2 separate regions of the Homo sapiens genome follow, and region 2 is linked to region 1. The links are contacts of gene promoters, found by promoter capture Hi-C in human tissues and cell types (Jung and others, 2019). All regions are on one chromosome and are shown on one strand. Each heading gives the region's core, a stretch centred on a gene start or on the middle of the fragment in contact. The rest is flanking DNA. Distances are from core to core; before and after follow the strand shown.

Region 1 (2,700 bases), core at 147-2,646:
CAATTCTCTGCCTCAGCCTCTCGAGTATCTGGGATAACAGGCGCCCACCACCACGACCAGCTAATTTTTGTATTTTTAGTAGAGATGGGGTTTCGCCATCTTGGCCAGGCTGGTCGTGAACTCCTGACCTCATGATCCACCCCCTTCGGCCTCCCAAAGTGCTGGGATTACAGGTGTGAGCCACAATTTTGTGTCTTTTAACAAATCTTTCCCTGTCCCTTCCTTCCCCCTGCTCTTCCCAGCCTCCAGTATCCTCTGTTCTTTCACTTCTATGAAATCAACTTTTTAAAAGCGTCACATATGAGTGAGAACATGCAGTGTTTTAACTTTCTGTTCGTGGCTTAAGTCAGTTAACATGTCCTCCAGTTCCATCCATGTTGCTGCAAATGACAGGATTTTCTTCTTTTTAATGGCTGAAAAGTATTCCATTGTGTATATACACCCTATTTCCTTTATTCATCTGTTGTTGGACACAGAGATTGATTTCCTATTTTGGCTACTCTAAGTAGTGCTGCAATAAATATGGGGGTGCATAAATATGGAGTGCAGACGTCTCTTGGATATACTGATTTCCTTTTTTTTTTTCCTCCTAAATTGGCTTCCTCAGGTTGAATTATGTCCTTTCCTTTGGATAAATGTCTATGGCTGTGTTTTTAACCACAATACTATGCTTCCTTCCTCAAGGATTTTTGACTTTATCTTGTAGATGATGTGGAGCCATTAAAAATGTTTGAGGACAGGAGTGGCAAAACGTGGGTTTTTAGAAAGTTTCCTACTAGCAGCAGTGTAGAAAATGGACTGGAGCGGAGAGAATGACCTCTTCTAAAAGAAAATGTGAGCTGGGGGCGCAGGCTTATGCCTGTAATCCCAGCACTTTGGGAGGCCGAAGCGGGCGGATCACCTGAGGTCAGGAGTTCGAGACCAGCCTGGCCAACACGGTGAAAGCTGTCTCTACTAAAAATACAAAAATTAGTTGGGCATGGTGGCGGGCGCCTGTAATCCCAGCTACTCGGGGGACTGAGGCAGGAGAATCGCTTCAGCCCGGGGGACGGAGGTTGCAGTGAGCCGAGATCGTGCCACTGCACTCCAGTCTGGCGACAGAGCGAGGCGAGACTCCGTCCCTACGGAAAAAAAAAACCATATATATATATAAAATAAAAATAAATAAAATAAAATGTGTTGACTTAGGGTTATGGGGGTCTTCGTACCACCAAGTGGACTCATTGAGCAAGGGAGATCGCTGGGTACTAGAGCAAGCGGCCTAGAGCATCCGCGCAGGAGTAGGAGAGGCTGAAGAGTAAAGAGGGTTTAGAGGGTGGGACTGGGAGTCTCTCGACACTCTGTTACTTCTGCCTGTAAACGCCCGACTTCCGCCGCTGGTGGCCACCCGCAGGTAGTGATGTCGAGCGTCGAGCTCCCAAAACCGAGCTGGTGAGGGGCTGCAGGTGGCGGCGCAGTCTCGGTAGGCGGTATGAGTTTGGCTGGGGGCCGGGCACCCCGGAAGACCGCTGGGAACCGGCTTTCTGGGCTTTTGGAGGCAGAGGAGGAAGATGAGTTCTACCAGACGACTTATGGGGGTTTCACAGAGGCAAGATCCGGGCCTGGGAAAAGGGAGGGGAGGAGGCAAAGAGGAGCCCTGAAGGGAGAAACCCCGGACAAAGAAGAAGAGGGCGGGGAATAGAGAGGAGCTCTGGGAGCTGATACTCGAGTTGGGTGGGTGAATCGGAGCCGGGGGGCGAGGCGGGGGAACGGATAGTGTGGAGTCCTAGAAGGGAGAGCTCTGGATGGGGTCAAAGGGGCCTGAGACGGAGAAGCTCTCCGGAGGCACTCCAGAGAACAGAGAACGGCAGAAACCTACCGTATACTTGCGTGGTTGCATCTTTCACTGTACTTCTGACGTCCAGCATACACGAGGCACACACATAGTAGTAGACAGTTGCTCGATGTATACTCGTTGGCCCACTGCTGGATTATTCACCTGAGACATGGAAAGGAACCGCTCCAAAAGTAGAGGAGCTTAGCCCACTTCTTTTTCAGCTTTCAGGTCTCAGTGTAAATGTTTTCTCAGGAAGATAACCCTTCCTTGACTATCCTAACAAGTGTCCCCATTTATTTCTTCCACAGAACATATTTCAATTTGCAATTAGATTTGGTTTGCTTACTTGCTTATGCTTTTCTATTGCATTGTAAACTGTATAAAGTTAGAGATGGTCTGTTTTGTTCAACATTATGTGTGAGGTGTCCGGACTGGGCTGCCACTTGCTAAATTTTTATTAGTTGAATCTACCCGTTTATTAAATGTGTTGAGTACCCAGAGCATGCCATCGGTAATAGGTTGTTTTAGGCTCTAGGGAAACAGAATATTAAAAACAGTGCTCTGTCCTTACATACTCCATGCCCCAGTGGGGTAACTGCCTGGGTTAACAGTTAAAATACTGTGTGATAGGCCGAGCACAGTGGCTTTGGCCGGGCACAGTGGCTCACGCCTGTAATCCCAGCACTTTGGAAGGCCGAGGCGGGTGGATCACAAGGTCAGGAAATCGAGACCATCCTGGCCAACATGGTAAAACCCCCTGTCTCTATTAAAATACAAAAATTAGCCAAGCGTGGTGGTGTGCGCCTATAGTCCCAGCTACTCAGGAGGCTGAGGCAGAGAATCGCTTGAACCTGGGAGGAGGAGGTTGCAGTGAGCCGAGATCG
Region 2 (2,700 bases), core at 192-2,691, 590 kb before region 1:
AATACATCAAATAATTGGATTTACATGATATTGTTCCTCTAGACATACTTTTTTTTTTGAGACAGAGTCTTCCTCTGTCTCCCAGGCTGGAGTGCAATGGTGCATTCTCGGCTCACTGCAACCTCCGCCTCCCAGGTTCGAGTGATTCTCATGCCTCAGCCTCCCGAGTAGATGAGACCACAGGTGCACACCACCACATCCGACTGATTTTTGTATTTTTTAGTAGAGATGGGGTTTCACCATGTTGGACAGGCTGGACTCGAACTCCTGGCCTCAAATGATCCACCCACCTTGGCCTCCCAAAGTGCTGGGATTACAGGCATGAGCCACCATGCCCAGCCTAGACATACTTTATCAACAAGTAAAATTCTCAGCCAGATTTTATATTGCCTTTTTCATTACTGTTTTTAAAAATCATCACTATTGAAAAGGCTGTGAGCTTTCTCTTCTGTACATAGGTTTTGGCGTGGGCAAAGAGGACCTGGATTCCCAAGAAGCTCACAGACTTGTCCAGGGTCATGTAAAGAGTCAGTGGTAGAATGGGATCTGGAACAGGTCCATGTCCGTCACTGTCCATGTAAAGATTGCTGTCCATATACCTTTTTACTGATCCATGCTGTAGCTAGCATATGGAGGTTTACCTTCTGTATAATTGGTGACCGATTTGACTATGTAGCACATGACAAAGAATGTAAGCTGTTATTACTCAGTTACATGGAAAGGTACAAAGGATAGCTTAGTATCTTTCTTTAGGATATTCTTGTTTGATTCATCCAGTTGCCTCTCCTGCCATTTTAAAATGGTAACAGCCATTGGTATTTGTACCTCTCACTACCCTGGTTAGTCTCTTCATTCCAACCAGAGATGGGTCTGATGTGGCCACCATCCTTATCTCTGTGTTCAGTCCCCAGTCCTGACTTCAGTTTTCATGCTGATGAGTACCTAGAAGTCTACGTTTCTGCTTCTGAGCACCCTAACCACTTCTGGATCCAGATCGTTGGCTCCCGCAGCCTGCAATTGGATAAGCTTGTCAATGAGATGACCCAGCACTATGAGAATAGTGTGGTGAGTTGCCATAGGGACAGGGCTGGGGTTTAATGAAAAGAAGGCATATCTTTTTCATTGTACTCTTCCTTTCCCTGTGGAGCAACTACTTTTCTTTCTTCCTCCTGCAATTCTGTTTATGAGCCTACCACTTTGTAACTCTCTGCCTTTCTCCTCCTCCCCACATACAGCCTGAAGACTTGACTGTGCATGTAGGAGACATTGTAGCAGCACCTTTACCTACAAATGGTTCCTGGTATCGAGCCCGGGTCCTCGGCACCTTGGAGAATGGGAACTTGGACCTCTATTTTGTTGACTTTGGAGATAATGGAGATTGCCCACTGAAGGACCTCAGGGCTCTCAGGTCAGTGCTGAGGTCAGCTCAATCCCAACTGCTGACTCAGTTCTGGCCATAGGGTGGTGAGCTGTTGGCAGTTGTCAGGGGGATTTGGAAGGGAACCTGTTTACAGAGAGCAGATGGTTATCGTCTCATGTTAGTTGGTTCTTTCTGAAAGCAGCAATGTAAGAAGATGTTTTTGGCCCCAGGATTCTAATTTTAGTTTCTTTTACTTCAGGAGTGACTTCCTAAGCCTTCCATTTCAAGCAATAGAATGTAGTCTGGCACGGATTGCTCCCTCAGGTAAATTGGTCATGCCATCTATTGAGCTTACCTCCAAATAGAATAACTTCATACAGTTCATTGGAAGGAATTCTCACATTCCCAGGCTTTTTGAATTCTGGGGACTCAGGTGCCTTTTCCTCACCAGCACTAGCAGCAGCCAGAAACTTGCCTGGCAGACCCAACCCAACCAGAGAAGACACAGGTGCCTTCCTGAGTAGAAAAGGGTAGTTCCAACTTCCCTCCAGGGTATAAGCCCCACCCCTATCAGCAGTAACCCCTACAATCTTTTGCCAGGTGACCAGTGGGAAGAGGAAGCTTTGGATGAGTTTGATAGACTCACTCATTGTGCTGACTGGAAGCCTCTGGTAGCCAAGATCTCTAGCTATGTCCAGACTGGGATCTCAACTTGGCCAAAGATCTACTTATATGATACTAGCAATGGGAAGGTAAGACTGGCATTCACTCACTGCTTGCCATATCTTCAGTATATTTATAGCCTAATTTACTTTTTCTTCCTCAGAAACCCTTATCTGATATTACTCTTACTGTAAGATCCTTCTCACCATCTCACCAAAGGAATGTCTTTAAAGTATCAGTCCTTCTGCCTTGTTTCCTCAAATTTGCCCTTGCTTACTGAGAGAACATCATTCCCTTTTCATTTTTCTTCTCAGAAACTTGATATTGGGCTAGAATTAGTACACAAAGGATACGCAATTGAGCTTCCTGAAGACATAGAAGAAAACAGAGCTGTCCCAGACATGTTGAAGGACATGGTGAGCTATTGTAGTTATATAGGGTGCTGCTTCCAGGCAAATCTAGCACATAGACACTAAGGGCTTCTAGTCCTGATACTGTGTTAGCTTTCCTAAGGACTTTGAGCTCCTCCAGTAGTTGACCAAAGGAGCATTTTGTCCCTCTTGGTAGCCAAATGCAACTGCCTTAACCAGGTCCTATGAGAAGAATGAAAGGGTGGCCTCTTTTTTCCTAAAAGCCAACATGTTCCTCCTTTTTTCCTGTTTTCATCCACTCAGGCC

The links. Contacts are between HindIII fragments. The study calls those that stand out against the background at their distance.
Region 2: a contact is called between a fragment that was not itself captured here and the fragment with the promoter of VPS72 in region 1, in 1 of the 25 tissues and cell types used here (liver).

Annotation. Positions count from the first base shown.
Region 1 is chr1:151,188,893-151,191,592 of GRCh38, reverse strand. VPS72 (vacuolar protein sorting 72 homolog) reads left to right here and starts at 1,396. Exons shown (of 6, transcript NM_005997.3): 1 at 1,396-1,588. The coding sequence starts at 1,472. RefSeq lists enhancers at 1,252-1,311, 1,352-1,421. The HindIII fragment of the contact is 20,238 bases long and covers 1-2,700 here.
Region 2 is chr1:151,774,804-151,777,503 of GRCh38, reverse strand. TDRKH (tudor and KH domain containing) reads left to right here. Exons shown (of 13, transcript NM_001083965.2): 7 at 905-1,065; 8 at 1,236-1,408; 9 at 1,620-1,684; 10 at 1,961-2,112; 11 at 2,338-2,439; 12 at 2,698-2,700. Among named protein-coding and RNA genes, the nearest start is that of OAZ3, 9.5 kb to the right of the region's middle. The HindIII fragment of the contact is 4,030 bases long and covers 1-2,700 here.